Linked DNA regions of Homo sapiens: all the other regions are linked to region 3. The links are contacts of gene promoters, found by promoter capture Hi-C in human tissues and cell types (Jung and others, 2019). All regions are on one chromosome and are shown on one strand. Each heading gives the region's core, a stretch centred on a gene start or on the middle of the fragment in contact. The rest is flanking DNA. Distances are from core to core; before and after follow the strand shown. Region 1 overlaps CHAF1A (chromatin assembly factor 1 subunit A). Region 2 holds the start of STAP2 (signal transducing adaptor family member 2). Region 3 holds the start of GIPC3 (GIPC PDZ domain containing family member 3).

Region 1 (4,944 bases), core at 681-3,180, 830 kb before region 3:
TTTAATGCAAAAAGCACAGCAGGTTAATTTTCTATTTCAGGGAAAATGTCTTACTCTTTGCAGTCTGAGCTTGTTCTTCTCTGTAGAGCCTTTGACGAATTTCTTAGTTATCTGAAAACAGAAGACGTTTATCTTTAAACACGGGTTATTTCAATTGCTTCGAGAAAAAGAGAAACCTTTCCAGGTGATCAGTTTTTCCACCAACAGAACCAAAATGTCATAATAGGGTCACAAACTCCAGTAAGTGTGCATACATGTGTGTATCTGGGATTAGATAACAAGAGAGACTACGGAGGCAGATAAAGAAATGAGTGAAGGACACCAAGCACAAGAAAAACAAGGCAAGCTCAGAAATAAAGGCAACAGACAAGGCTGGGCGCGGTGGCTAACGCCTGTAATTCCAGCACTTTGGGAGGCCGAGGCAGACAGATCACCTGAGGTCAGGAGTTCGAGACCAGCCTGGCCAACGTGGCAAAACCCCATCTCTACTAAAAATACAAAAATTAGCCGAGCGTGGTGGCAGGTGCCTGTAATCCCACCTACTCAGGAGGCTGAGGCAGAAGAATCGCTTGAACCCAGGAGAAGGAGGTTGCAGTGAGCCGAGATTGCGCCACCATACTCCTGCCTGGGCAACAGGGTGAGACTCTGTCTTAAAAAAAAAAAAAAAAAAAAAGCGACAGCTGGCCTGGGCGACAGGGAGAGGATGGATTTGTAGCAAAGGAGAGAGGACCTGCCTGTCCAAAGGAGATGGAGTTCTTACAGGAATATAGATCCCTATTTGCTGGTCCTTCCAATTTCTCCAAGAGAAGCTGATATTAGGAATTTCATATGAATTTTTTTAGGTGTTTAAAAATGGACACAGACGGGCACAGTGGCTCATGCCTGTAATCCCAGCACTTTGGGAGGTCAAGGCGGGAGGATCACTTGAGCCCAGGAGTTCAAGACCAGCCTGGGCAATAAAGCAAGACCCTGTCTCTAAAAAAAGCTTTTAGTTAGTCGGGTGTTGTGGTGCACATCTGTAGTCCTAGCTACCCAGGAGTCTGGGGTGGGAGGAGCCCGGGAGGTTGAGGCTGCACTGAGCTGTCCAACCTGGGTGACAGAGTGAGACTGTCTAAAAAAAAAATAAAAAGATACTAAATTAATCAAATAAAACATGTCTCCAGGCTGGTTTCCTGTGCACCACTAATTTACATTCTGTCTAGCTCAACTCTGCTTTTTATTTTAATGTTATTTTTGAGATGGAGTCTTACTCCTGTCACAGAGGCTGGAGTGCAGCGAGTGCCACGATCTCGGCTCACTGCAACCTCTACCTCCCAAGTTCAAGCGATTCTCCTGCCTCAGCTTCTTGAGTAGCTGGGATTATAGGCGTGTGCCACCACACCTGGCTAATTTTTGTATTTTTAGTGGAGATAGGGGTTTCATCATGTTGGCCAGGCTGGTCTCGAACTCCTGACCTCAGGTGATCCACCCGCCTCGCCTCCCAAAGTGCTAGGAATTCAGGCGTGAGCCACCGCGCCCAGCCAACTCTGCTTTTTAGAATGTGGAGTGAAAGCTTAAGACAAAAGGGAAACTTGCTGGGGTTTTCTAGGACTTCTACCTTCTAGGGCACAATATTTTCTATCACCTACCTTCAAACTGAGCATGAGCTACTAGGAATTACCAATAGGATCCATGGTGTGACTCACCATCCACCTAAATGGTCCCAGGAAGGAAGACGAACAGGGAGTCTGGACTTTGGCCTAAGCTATCTCCCACCGGGGCAGGGAATCCTGAAAACCAAACTAGTAGAAGTGAAGAGCAATGGGAAGAGACGCTTAAGAGTGGGAAGAAATAGTTCTCCGGGTTCATTGCAGACTTGCAGTGTAAGACTGAAGTTGACTGAAAAACCAAAGGCCCATTTTCCTGGCAATGGTCTGAGGGGTCAACAAAATTATGTAAGTGATTTCTTTTTTTTTTTGAGACGGAGTCTCGCTCTGTCGCCCAGGCTGGAGTGCAGTGGCGCCATCTCGGATCACTGCAAGCTCCGCCTCCCGGGTTCAAGCGATTCTCCTGCCTCAGTCTGCCCAGTAGCTGGGACTATAGGTGCCCACCACCATGCCTGGGTAATTTTTTTGTATTTTTAGTAGAGATGGGGTTTCACCATGTTAGCCAGGATGGTCTCGATCTCCTGACCTCGTGATCCGCCCGCCTCGGCCTCCCAAAGTGCTGGGATTAAAGGCGTGAGCCACCGCGCCCGGCCAACAGTGATTTCTTTATCTGGGAAAGCTGAACCCCTGACTAGGACCTCTCACAGAATAAAAGCTTCAGATGAATGAGCTCAAGACAGCCTTTCCACCTGGGTCCCACTGAGTCCTTTCTGGACTAAACCTTTCTTTAGGGAAAGGCCGAGCCGTTGTGAGAAGGCTGCCCGTGTTGGCAGGAGCTCTTTCACCACCGAGATCAGGCCAGGGTGTTCAGTCTTTGCTGAGAATGTGGCAACAGAAATGCCAGCCCGAGGCAGCCTCACCAAATGCTGCAGAAAAAGCATCTGTCTCTCCAGCATCTACTCTGCCTGCCAAGGCTGTGTGCCTCTCCCCCACGCTGAGGGATTTAACTGCAGAATATGGGAGCCGCAGCTCTCCGGGGCTGCCCTTTGTGTTCAGAGATTATAATACGGAATGTGGTCTTGGGGTGGCGGGGAATTCAGTTCCTTAGTCTTGCCCATGCCTGAAGCTCAGCTGCAGAATCTCCTGCCTCTTACAATGCCCCCCCTCTGCTGTGAGTCCAGAGATAACAGACTTGATGTGACTGGCAAGAGCCCGCTCAGTAATATCCAACAACCAAAACAGAGCAATTACTGCTTAATTTAAAACTGGTATCTTTTTTGCTTTGCCAAACCCTCAGATGGACCTTGAAGTCTGACAGAACTTTATCTTCTTGAAATTTGACCCAAGTGTTTATAGATCTCACTCTCAAAATTCTATGCAACACTCCCACATTCTACCCAGCTGGAGCCCGGTCAGACAGCACCCTCAACTGCCAAAAACGTGATCCAGGATCCCAGAAGGAAGCCAAAACACAAAAACCGACAATCCCAAGGAGTCGCGACAGAGCTCACTATGTGTGGGCATGAAAATTCCTGCACCCTTTCTCAGATAATCCTCTCAGAGCCTATGGACTCTGATTTTATACTAAAGGGTATCTAATTTCTAAGCCCAGACCAGATAAGCCGCTAAAACCTGACAGCAGGGGAGCGGAGGCAGGGGGGAAAAGAGAAAACCTCCAATTGGCCCAAGCATGAGAGAGTGCAAGCTGGGAAAATAAGAACGCACGCATTGCCTTGAGCTACCAAGACCTCATTCTCCTTAACAGCCCAAGGCCACTTGTAGAAGGAAGCTCAAGGGAACAATCATTTTGTGAAAGCCAAGCACAGAAACAGCAGAACTGAGAAAACAGCTCTGTAACCTACAGCATGTCCACACCATGGGATATCACGCAGCTGTTAAAAAGAGCTCCATCTTTCCATCCCAATATAAAAAACATCTAAGACACCCTTGAGTAACAAAGACAGATATTTACAGTATATGTCATACACAAGGAAACAAAATGATACTGGGTGTTTCCTAGAGATCTCTCTGGATATACAGGACACAGAAAAACACAAGGTGATGATGATGATAATAATGGCAACCTCCTGGGAGAACAGAGGGCTTCAAGGTTTCCATTCTTTTTCCTTTTTGTTTTTTTTTTTTTTTGAGACGGTCTGGCTGTTGCCCAGGCTGGAGCACAGTGGTGCAATCATGACTCACCGCAACCTCTGCCTCCTTGGCTCAAGTGATCCTTCCACCTCAGCCTCCCAAGGAGCTGGGACTACAGGTGTGCACCCCCATGCCCCGCTATTTTTTGTATTTTTTGTACAGACGGAGTTTCACCATGTTGGTCAAGCTGGTTTCGAACTCCTAAGCTCAAGCAATCCTCCCACCTCGGCTTCCCAAAGTGCTGGGGTTACAGGCTTGAGCCACTGCACCTAGACCAGTATTTCTTTTAAACATGGAGAATTTATTACAAATGTAATTTCAAGTATATGGAAAGAAGTTCCAGCAATCTGGGCACAGAAGCAAGCCAAAGATTCCAGTAACACAACTGCACCAACATGATCATTTGTCAAATAATCATCTCGATCACTAACAGAAGAGGCTAAATCACAAGTCTGATTGCAAACTTCAGAAATGGTTCTTTCCCACATGGTAGAAAACTCTAATACTAAAAAGGAACACTTCAGCTATTCAAAGGACCCTGGGAGTATCTAAAGGGGGATCTTTTTAAATCATTGTTTCTCCAAAGTGAGATTCTCCAGATCCTGCAGTACTAAAACAACAACAAAAACCAAAACAAACAAAAACACGCCATGAAGCTCCCTGCAAAGGGACAGCAGGACCTGTATCGGAACAAACTCCCATTTTCTTTTATTTTAAAGAAGAAATAATAAAGAAGGCAAGCCAGCCCACAAAGTACAGTGGCAATGACTGCCCTGGGACTCTCAATGCATATTTCACTGTACCAACTCAAGGAAGAACAGACCCCAGTGACAAGCACACAGATTACACGGCAGTGCGAAACAATCTGCAAGCTTCCCACCAGCTCGCCCCTGCAATCTGGAAAGAGCTGCTGGTAGGGAGGTAAAGTGCAAAAACAGTGTATTCCCCAGAGGAACAGGGGTTGTGGGAAGGGGGTGGCTTGGACGTCACGGCAAGGAAAGGTGTTAAGAGTTAGGTACCAACTGGCCAGGCGCGGTGGCTCACACCTGTAATCCCAGCACTTTGGGAGGCCGAGGCGGGCGGATCACGAGGTCAGGAGTTCGAGACCAGCCTGTCCAACACGGTGAAACCCCATCTCCACTAAAAATACAAAAATTAGCTGGGCCTGGTGGCGCGTGCCTGTAATCCCAGCTACTTGGGAGGTTGA
Region 2 (4,982 bases), core at 1,838-4,337, 750 kb before region 3:
TAGCTGGGACTGCAGATGCACATCACCACACCCAGCTAATTTTTGTATTTTTAGTAGAGAAGGGGTTTCACCATGTTTGCCAGGCTGGTCTCGAACTCCCAACCTCAGGTGATCCACCTGCCTCAGCCTCCCAAAGTGCTGGGATTACAGGTGTGAGCCACTGCGCCCAGCCTATTTTCTTTTCTTTTCGAGACAGGGCCTTGCTCTATCTCCCAGGCTGGAGTGCATTGGTGTAATCATGGCTCACTGCAGCCTTGGCCTCCTGGACTCAAATGATCCTCTTGCCTCAGCCTCCAGAGTAGCTGAGACAACAGGCGTGACCAGCATGCCTGGCTAATTTTTAATTTTCTTGTAAAAGAAGGGGATCTCACTATGTTGCCCATGCTGGTCTCCAAGTCCTGGCCTTAAGCAATCTTCCCACTTGGGCTCCCAAAGTGTTTGGATTACAGGCGTGAGCCACCGCACCCTGCCCTCCTCTCATGCTGTAAATCCTTCTGTCGCTCCACATTGCCTTAGACAAATACAATAAAAACTAACCACCCTGGCTGGGCACAGTGGCTCACGCCTGTAATCCCAGCACTTTGGGATCACTTGAGGTCAGAAGCTGAAGACCAGCCTGACCAACATGGTGAAACCCCATCTCTAATAAAAACAAAAAAATTAGCCGGGGGTGGTGGCAGGCACCTGTAATCCCAGCTACTCCAGAGGCTGAGGCAGGAAAATCGCTTGAACCCGGGAGGCGGAGGTTGCAGTGAGCCGAAATCATGCCACTGCACTCCAGCCTGGGCAAAAGGAGCAAAACCCTGTCTGAAAAAACAAACAAACAAAAAAACGAAACAAAAATCAACTCTCTGACCTTACTTAGTATAGCTGATACTATCAACTTTATCAGACAGTTCAGTGGATGAACACATTGCCACAGTCCCACGGCCTTTCTGTGATTTCTAGAACACCTGTTCTGCTATGTATACAAAGTCTAGCCCTGGTAACTACTAAGGAAATTGAATTTGTAATTTAAAAACTCCCAAAAAAGCAATCTCCAGACCCAGATGGTTTCACTAAGGAATTCTGCCAAAGGTTCAAAGAAGAATTAACACCAATTTCACATCATCTCTTCCAGAAAATTGAAGGGGACACTTCCCTGTTCATTTTATGGAACTATGACCCTGATACCAAAACCAGATAAAGACGGTACAAAGAAAGCAAGCTACACCCCATATCCCTCATGAAGACGTGCAAAAATCCTTAACAAAATATTACAAAGTAGAATTTAACAATATATAAAGTGAATTATACACCATGACAAGTGGGGTTTACTCCAGGGACCCAAGACTGATTCAGTATTCAAAATTAATCAATTGTCCACCATATTAAACAGGCTGTGGTAGGCAGAATAATGGTCTCTTAAAGATATCCACGCCCTAATTCCCAGAATCTGTGAATACGTTAGGATACGTGGCAAAGGGATTTGAAGATTAAAGATAGACGCCAGGCACAGTGGCACACACCTGTAACCCCAGCACTTTGGGAGGCCTAGACTGGAGGATCACTTGCACCCAGGAGTTCAAGACTAGCCTGAGGGCCGGGCACGGTGGCTTATGCCTGTAATCCCAGCACTTTGGGAGGTCGAGGCAGGTGGATCACAAGGTCAGGAGATTAAGACCATCCTGGCTAACACAGTGAAACTCCATCTCTACTAAAATAAAAATACAAACAAATTAGCTGGGCATGGTGGCACGTGCCTATAATCCCAGCTACTCGGGAGGCTGAGGCAGGAGAATTGCTTGAACCTGGGAGGCAGAGGTTGCAGTAAGCCGAGATCGCTCCACTGCACTCCAGCCTGGGTGACAGAGTAAGACTCTGTCTCAAAAAAAAAAAAAAAAAAAGACCAGCCTGGGCAACATAGCAAGAACCTGTCTCTAGTAAGTGTAAAAATTAGCTGGGCGTGGTGGCAGGCACCTGTAATCCCAGCTACTTGGGAGGCTGAGCCAGGCGAATGGCATGAACCTGGGAGGCGGAGCTTGCAGTGAGCCGAGATCACGCCACTGCACTCCAGCCTGGGCTACAGAGCGAGAGTCTGTCTCAAAAAAAAGAAAAAAAAAAATTAGCCAGGTGTGGTGGCATGCAACTGTAGTACCACCTACTCTGGAGGCTGAGGCTGGAGGATCACTTGAGCCTGTAAGGTCGAGGCTACAGTGAGTCATGATCGCCCCACTGTACTCCAGCCTAGGCAACATAGTGAGAACTCATCCTTAAAAAAGGAAAATAAATTAGCTGGGTGTGGTGGTGCCCACCTATAGTCCCAGCTCTTCGGGTGGCTGAGGCAGGAGGACCGCTTGAGATTGGGAGGTCAGGGCTGCAGTGAACTATGATCGTGCCACTGCACTCCAGCATCGACAACAGAATGAGACACCGTCTAAAAAAGAAAAATTGCAGATGAAATTAAAGTTGCTAGTCAGCTGACTTTAAAATAGGGAGAGTAGCGTGGATTATCCAGGTGGGCCCAATGTAATCATTAGGGTCCATCAAAGTAAGAGAAAGGGCCAGGTGTGGTGGCTCATGCCTGTAATCTCAGCACTTTGGGAGGCTGAGGCGGGCAGAAAACTTGGGGTCAGGAGTTCGAGACCAGCCTGGGCCAACATGGGGAAACCTCGTCTCTACTACAAATACAAAAATTAGCCAGGCGTGGTGGCGGTCACCTGCAATCCACGCTAGTCAGGAGACTGAGCTTGGACTCAGTCTCTGAACCCGGGAGGCAGCGCAGTCTCTTGAACCCGGGAGGCAGAGGTCGCAGTGAGCCAAGATCATACCACTTTACTCCAGCCTGGGCAACAGAGTGAAACTCTGTCTCAAAATAGGAAAAATAGATAAATAAATAAATAAAGAGACAGACCATGTCTCTGTCTTTGCAGATATAGCGAAGATTATTCTCCCATTCAAGTAGACTTATACATTCTCTCTGTTCTCAGTTCCACACCGGAGAGGCGGGGATTTCCCTAGGATCACTGGACCTGCTGGGATCAGCCTCTGCCCAGCCCTGGCAGGGGAGGGAGTTGACGGGCTGACACAGGAAACTCCCCTGAAACCTGTTTCTCAGCTTCCCGGCCCAGCTGGGGCACCCACTGGAAGGAGAGGCCAGGCGGAAGACCCTGGCTCCGTCATGGCCTCTGCCCTGAGGCCACCCCGTGTCCCCAAGCCTAAGGGTGTCCTGCCTTCACACTACTATGAGAGCTTTCTAGAGAAGAAGGGGCCCTGTGACCGGGTAAGGTGGGGAGGCGGGGGCTGGCCCTGCTGGGCCACCGTGGGGAGCTGCGGCACCTCTCTGAGTCCCTGTCTCCCCACTCGCCAAGGGGGGGCGGGGTGGGTGCTGGATGGGGCAGGACACGTGCTGGGGGACTGGGGTGGGTTCTGGCCATCTGCCTCTCTGTGCGTCTATCTCTGTCTCCGTGTGTCTTTGAATTTGGTTTCTTTTTCTCTTTCTCTCTCCCTGGCCCCGTCTGTCTCTCCCGATGTCTGTCTCAGTCTCCCTCTCTCTTTGTCTCAATCTTTGCTTTTGTCTCTCGTTCACTCTCTTGAATACAAACAAGATCAGGGACTTCCTCCAGGAAATGGGGAGTCCTCTGACTCCCGAGCTTCCTCCCGCTCCCAGCCCAGGAAAAACTCCGTGAACCTCAGCTGCTGGGGCGAAGGCCAGGACAGGTGACATGTGAGGACAGTAAGAGCTAGCGGGGGCCACATTCCACAGGACAGATAGTTGCCATGGACAGTGCGTGCATGTGTGTGTGTGTGTGTGCTTATGTCTCCCTCAGAATAAAGTCCCAGCCCCTCCGTTCCCCGTGAGGCCCTATCTCTCCTTCCCAATGCCGCATATTCATTTTCTTTCTTTCTTTTTGTTAGAGACAGAGTTGCTCTGTCACCCAGGCTAGAGTGCAGGGGCACGATCATGGCTCACTGTAGCCTCAAACTCCTGGGCTCAAGTGAACCTCCCGCCCCAGCCTCCTGAGTAGCTGGGACCACAGGCATGCACTGCCTCTTCTGGCTTTTATTTTATTTATTTATTTTTGAGACTGAGTCTCACTCTGTCACCCAGGCTGCAGTGCAGTGGCACCATCTCGGCTCACTGCAACCTCCACCTCCCAGGTTCAAACGATTAAGCGATTCTCGTGCCTCAGCCTCCCGAGTAGCTGGGATTACAGGTACGCACCACCACACCTAATTTTTGTATTTTTAGTAAAGACAGTGTTTCATTTTGTTGGCCCGGCTGGTCTTGAACTCTTGACCTCAGGTGATCCACCTGTCTCGGCCTCTCTAAATGCTGGGATTACAGGCATGAGCCACCGCACCCAGCCTTTTTTTTTTTTTTTTGAAGATGGGGTCTTGCTGGCCAGGCGCAGTGGGTCACACCTGTAATCCCAGCACTTAGGGAGGCTGAGGCAGGTGGATCACCTGAAGTCAGGAGTTTGAGACCAGCCTGGCCAATATGGTGAAACCCCGTCTCTACTAAAAATACAAAGATTAGCCGGGCGTGGTGGTGCGTGCCTGTGATCCCAGCTACTCTGGAGGCTGAGGCAGGAGAATCACTTGAACCTGGGAGGCAGAGGTTGCAGTGAGCCAAGATCGTGCCACTGCACTCCAGCCTGGGCAACAGAGCAAGACTCCGTCTCAAAAAAAAAAAAAAGATGGGGTCTTGCTATGTTGCCCAGGCTGGTCTCAAACTCCTGGCCTTAAGTGATCCTCCTGTCTCAGCCTCCCAAACTGCTGGGATTAGAGGTGTGAGCCACCATGACTGCCTCATTTTCTAATACAGATCAAAACAAACACCCCCAGCTCCTCCCTGCCCATGTCCCCGCCTCTGCCCCTGAGGTTCCCTTACCTGTAGTGGAGTAGACTTTCCTTCTACCTCCATACATCCAAATCCTCCCCAACCAACAAACCCTTTAGAGCCAGTAGATCACTGCAGTTAAGAAAGATAATGGGGGAGG
Region 3 (4,837 bases), core at 2,281-4,780:
AGCTGGCCTGGGCTCTAGAGCTGGGTTTAGTCTCAGACTAAGCTTGATTTTTTTTTTTTTTTTTGAGATGTTGTCTTGCTCTGTCACCCAGGCTAGAGTGCAATGGCACGATCTCGGCTTACTGCAGCCTCCACCTCCCAGGTTCAAGCGATTCTCCTGCCTCAGCCTCTCGAGTAGCTGGGATTACAGGCACCTGCCACCATGCCCAGCTAATTTTTTGTATTTTTAGTAGAGACAGGGTTTCACCATATTGGCCAGGCTGGTCTCGAACTCCTGACCTCGTGATGCACCCGCCTTGGCCTTCCAAAGTACTGGGATTACAGGCTTGAGCCACTGCACCCAGCCAGGTTTTTTTTTTTTTTTTTTTGATACGATGGATCACCTGACCTCAGGTGATCCACCTGCCTTGGCCTCTCAAAGTGCTGGGATTACAGGTGTGAGCCACCACGCCCGGCCTAAACTCTATTTTTAGGCATGGCTTTTGGAGTTCACAGCCACGGCAGGGCAGATTCTAGAACCCCATACAGCTCACTCTCCCTGGGACGTCTCTCCATGTGTGCTGGGGCACTTCTAGAATCTCTGTCTCTGTTCTATAGAACAACGCTATCCAAAGGGCCAACCCATGGCTACATGAGGAGAATGTGCTAGTGTGTAAATCAATACACTGTTTTCTTCATTGAGAAAGTCTAGTTATGAAAAAAAATGGGCAGGGTGCAGTGGCTCATGCCTGTAATTCCAGCACTTTCGGAGGCCGAGGCGGGCAGATCACCTGAGGTCGGGAGTTCGAGACCAGCCTGCCAACATGGAGAAACCCCATCTCTACTAAAAATACAAAATTAGCCAGGCATGGTGGCACATGCCTGTAATCCCAGCTAGTTGGGAGGCTGAGGCAGGAGAATCACTTGAACCTGGGAGGCAGAGGTTGTGGTGAGCCGAGATCACACCATTGCACTCCAGCCTGGGCAACAAGAGCAAAACTCCGTCTCAAAAAAAGAAAAAAATTAAAAATTAGCTGGCACGGCCAGGCGCGGTGGCTCACACCTGTAATCGCAGCACTTTGGGAGGCCGAGGTGGGCGGATCACGAGGTCAGGAGATCGAGACCGTCCTGGCTAACACGGTAAAACCTCATCTCTACTAAAATACAAAAAATTAGCCGGGTGTGGTGGCGGGCGCCTGTAGTCCCAGCTACTCGGGAGGCTGAGGCAGGAGAATGGTGTGAACCCGGGAGGCGGAGCTTGCAGTGAGCTGAAATCTAGCCACTGCACTGCAGTCTGGGCGACAGAGCTAGACTCCGTCTCAAAAAAAAAAAAAGAAAAGAAAAGAAAAAAGAAAGGAAAAAAAAAAGAAAAGAAAGAAAACTTTTTTCTCATATTCTCATTCTCTACAATCCACCATGACCTCAAAGCACTGCTTTAAAAGTTCCCAGGCTGCGCGCGGTGGCTCACGCCTATAATCCTAGCATTTTGGGAGACTGAGGCGGGTGGAGCACTTGAGGTCAGAAGTTCGAGACCAGACTGGTCAAGATGGTGAAACCCCGTCTCTACTAAAAATACAAAAATTAGCCAGGCGCAATGGTGGGTGCCTGTAGTCCCAGCTACTCGGGAGGCTGAGGCAGGAGAATCGCTTGAACCCGGGAGGTGGAGATTGCAGTGAGCTGAGATCGCGCCATTGCACTCCAGCCCAGGCAACAGAGTGAGACTCCGTCTCAAAAACAAACAAACAAACAAACAAACAAAAACAAGTCTCCCAGCCTGGCTCCAAAGTGGTTCTGGACGCGTCCTCCTCCAACTCCACTTTACCCAGTCTCTCCCCCACCCCTCCCCCACAGGCTGACTCCATAACAATCTATTAATAGAAACTACCTACGAGTTTCTGATACCCTGCCAGGAGCTCCTTGGCACGCAGCGGGTGCACCTAGAACCTTCCAGCCCGTCCCATCCCCGACCCTCCTCCACCCCAGGCATCCGTAGAACGCACTTCGGGAAGAGCTCCCGCCAGCCCACCCGCCTCACCGAAGGCCCTCTTGGGCTGCACCAGGCGCAGGGTGAAGGGCTGGGACTTGGGCAGCTCCCGGAGCATCTTGGCCACCTCGTAGTGGCGGCAGCCCACAATGGAGTGGTCGTTGATGGCTTCGATGCTGTCACCCACGCACACTGCCTCGATCCGGTTGATGATACTGCCTTCCTTGATTCTCTGCAGGGATCCAGCGTCGCTGGCAGGGCAACCCCAGCCACCCGCCTCCAATCCGCAGAACCCACGTCGACCCAGAGTGGGGGGGGCAGTTGCTGGACCCCAGGAAGCCACCCGCCCACCCCCTCCCGGGCACCTTGATGAAGGCGTAGCCAGCCCCGTTGTCCGTGATGGTCAGCCCCAGAGCATCCTCTGTCTTAGTGACCTCCACCTCCTTGGTCTCGCCTCGCACGTGGGCAAAGATGAAGTCCTCCAGGCCTATCTGACCCCCCAGGAGCTTCTGCATGTCCACTTTGTGGCTGTTGAGGGTGCAGAATAAAATCTTCCCGGGGGAGAAGGAGCCTAGAGTTAGCCAGGGCATGCATCCCCCCACGCAGCCACCCTGTCTGCGCAGGCCCCTGCCCCCAGCGACCAGGATCCCAGCCCATGGGAAAGGGCAGGGCGTGGGACCCCCAGAACAGAGAGAGGAGGGAGAAGGAGACTTCCAGCAGGTGGAGACCCCTCTCCATACCCCGGGACCTCCAGCCCCCAGACCTCCAGGTTTAATCTGCTGGCGCCCCCTGGGGGCTGCAAACCAAACGAACCCGGATTGGAAAAACGCCCAGGAACCCCCCAACCCCACGGCGGCCTCAAACTTCCCATCCCTAAGGGGGCCATCTGGAACCCCAGACCCCAGCTACGCCCAGGAAGCACAGAGGCGCTTCCCCGAGGGCTGGGGTCCGCTCCAAGCTAGGTCTGCGCAGAGGATTTTCTGGAATATCTAGGGGTCCGCTAGTCCTAAGACCTGCCCATCTTTTGCGCAGAGCGTGCAAAGGGGGCCCCTGGGAGTGTGGCACCCCGGGATCTGAGGGCTGGGTCTCTGAGATCCGGCGATTAGGCGGCCACCCCGACGTCTGGGATCCGGGGATCTGGGGTCTCCCGTCCAGGGTCCAAGCTCCCTACCCCTCACCCCATCAGGCGGGTGGTCTTGGGCGCCGGTGTCCGGGCTCCTTACCTCGGTGGGCGCGATCCCGAAGGCTTCGGCGATCTTGGCGTACAGCTCGCGGACGTTGGTGAAGCCCTCGATCTTGCCCGTGGGGCTCCCGTGCGCCAGCTGCGTGCGGAAGACGAGGCGCGGGCGGGCGCGGGGCGCGGCCGGGGGCTCCGAGGGCGCGGGCGGGGGCGCAGACGCGCGCGGGGTCTCGGTCCCCCGGGCCTCCCGGGCCGCTGCTCCCTCCATGGCGGGAGAAGTTCGGCCACCCACCCGGGCCCTCGCCGCCGCCGCCGGATCCGCCGCTTCCTGCAGCCTCCCCTCCCCCGGCCCAGGGCGCGACAGCCGAGACGCCCGGGTAAGGGGATCTGGGAACCCGAGCCTCCCGGGAAGGCGACACCGCGGGGTGCGCAGGGGTGGGTCGGGCCCCAGGTGTCCGGGCCCTGCCAGGGCCAGCTGTGCCCTCCCCGGGGATACCCGCAGTCCGGGGGGGCCTGAGCTCAGGACCCTGGAAGAACAGGGACCACAAATAAGGACAGGGACAGGCCTGGAGCGGTGGCTCACGTCTGTAATTCCAGCACTTTGGGAGGCCGAAGCGGGCAGATGACCTGAGGTCAGGAGTTCAAGACTAGCCTGGCCAACATGGTGAAACCCCGTCTCTACCAAAAATACAAAAATCAGCCGGACGTGGTGGCGGGCGCCTGTAATCCCAGCTACTCGGGAGGCTGAGATCTCTTGAACCCGGGAGGCGGAGGTGGCAGTGAGCTGAGATGGCGCCATTACACTCCAGCCTGGGCAACAAAGCGAGACTCCGTCGCAAAAAAAAAAAAAAAAAAAAAAAAAAGGACAGGGACAGCTGAGGGTGCTGGAGCACTCACCCTCTGCTAGGCGAGGTCATTGTTTTATTTTATTTTATTATTTTTATTTATTTATTTATTTTGAGCTGGAGTCTCGCTCTGTCACCCAGTTTGGAGTTCAGTGGCACGATCTCAGCTCACTGCAACCTCTGCCCACCAGGTTCAAGCAATTCTCATGCCTCGGCCTCCCCAGTAGCTGGGATTACAGGCATATACCACCATGCCCGGCTAATTTTTTTGTATTTTTAATAGAGATGAGGTTTCACCATGTTGGCCAGGATGGTCTTGAACTCCTGACCTCAGGAATCCACCCACCTTAGCCTCCAAAAAAGCTGGGATTACAGGCATGAGCCACCACGCCCAGCCTTTGGTTTGTTTGTTTGATTTTGGAGACGGAGTCTAGCTCTGTCGCCCAGGCTGGAGTGCAATGGCGTGATCTCGGCTCACTGCAACCTCCACCTCCTGGGTTCAAGCGATTCTCCTGCCTCAGCCCCCCTAGTAGCTGGGATTATAGGCGCACACCACCATGCCTGGCTAATTTTTGTATTTTTTAGTAGAGACAGGGTTTCACCATGTTGGTCAGGCTTGTCTCGAACCCCTGACCTCAGGTGATCCACCTGCCTTGGCCTCCCAAAGTGCTGGGATTACAGGCGTGAACCACCGCACCCGGCCGCATTCAGTTTTTTAAAATTTAATTTAGAAACATGATTAATTTTTTGTACAGTTGGGATCTCACTGTGTTGCCCAGGCTGGTCTCAAACTCAAGACCAGGAGGTTCAGGCCATCCTTCAGCCTTGGCCTCCCAAAGTGCTAGGATTA

The links. The method cuts DNA at HindIII sites, captures the fragments that hold promoters and counts their contacts. A contact is called where the count stands out against the background at its distance.
Region 1: a fragment that was not itself captured here is called in contact with the fragment with the promoter of GIPC3 in region 3 in 1 of the 25 tissues and cell types used here (dorsolateral prefrontal cortex).
Region 2: the fragment with the promoter of STAP2 here is called in contact with the fragment with the promoter of GIPC3 in region 3 in 1 of the 25 tissues and cell types used here (H1 embryonic stem cells).

What each region holds. Positions count from the first base shown.
Region 1 is chr19:4,413,187-4,418,130 of GRCh38, reverse strand. It overlaps CHAF1A (chromatin assembly factor 1 subunit A), which reads right to left. Exons shown (of 15, transcript NM_005483.3): 4 at 55-111. Among named protein-coding and RNA genes, the nearest start is that of CHAF1A, 13 kb to the right of the region's middle. RefSeq lists an enhancer at 4,327-4,944. The HindIII fragment of the contact is 3,051 bases long and covers 405-3,455 here.
Region 2 is chr19:4,336,932-4,341,913 of GRCh38, reverse strand. It overlaps STAP2 (signal transducing adaptor family member 2), which reads left to right and starts at 3,087. Exons shown (of 13, transcript NM_001013841.2): 1 at 3,087-3,262. The coding sequence starts at 3,161. The HindIII fragment of the contact is 19,957 bases long and covers 1-4,982 here.
Region 3 is chr19:3,584,171-3,589,007 of GRCh38, reverse strand. It overlaps GIPC3 (GIPC PDZ domain containing family member 3), which reads right to left and starts at 3,530. Exons shown (of 6, transcript NM_133261.3): 1 at 3,186-3,530; 2 at 2,328-2,513; 3 at 2,014-2,194. The coding sequence starts at 3,410. The HindIII fragment of the contact is 10,668 bases long and covers 1-4,837 here.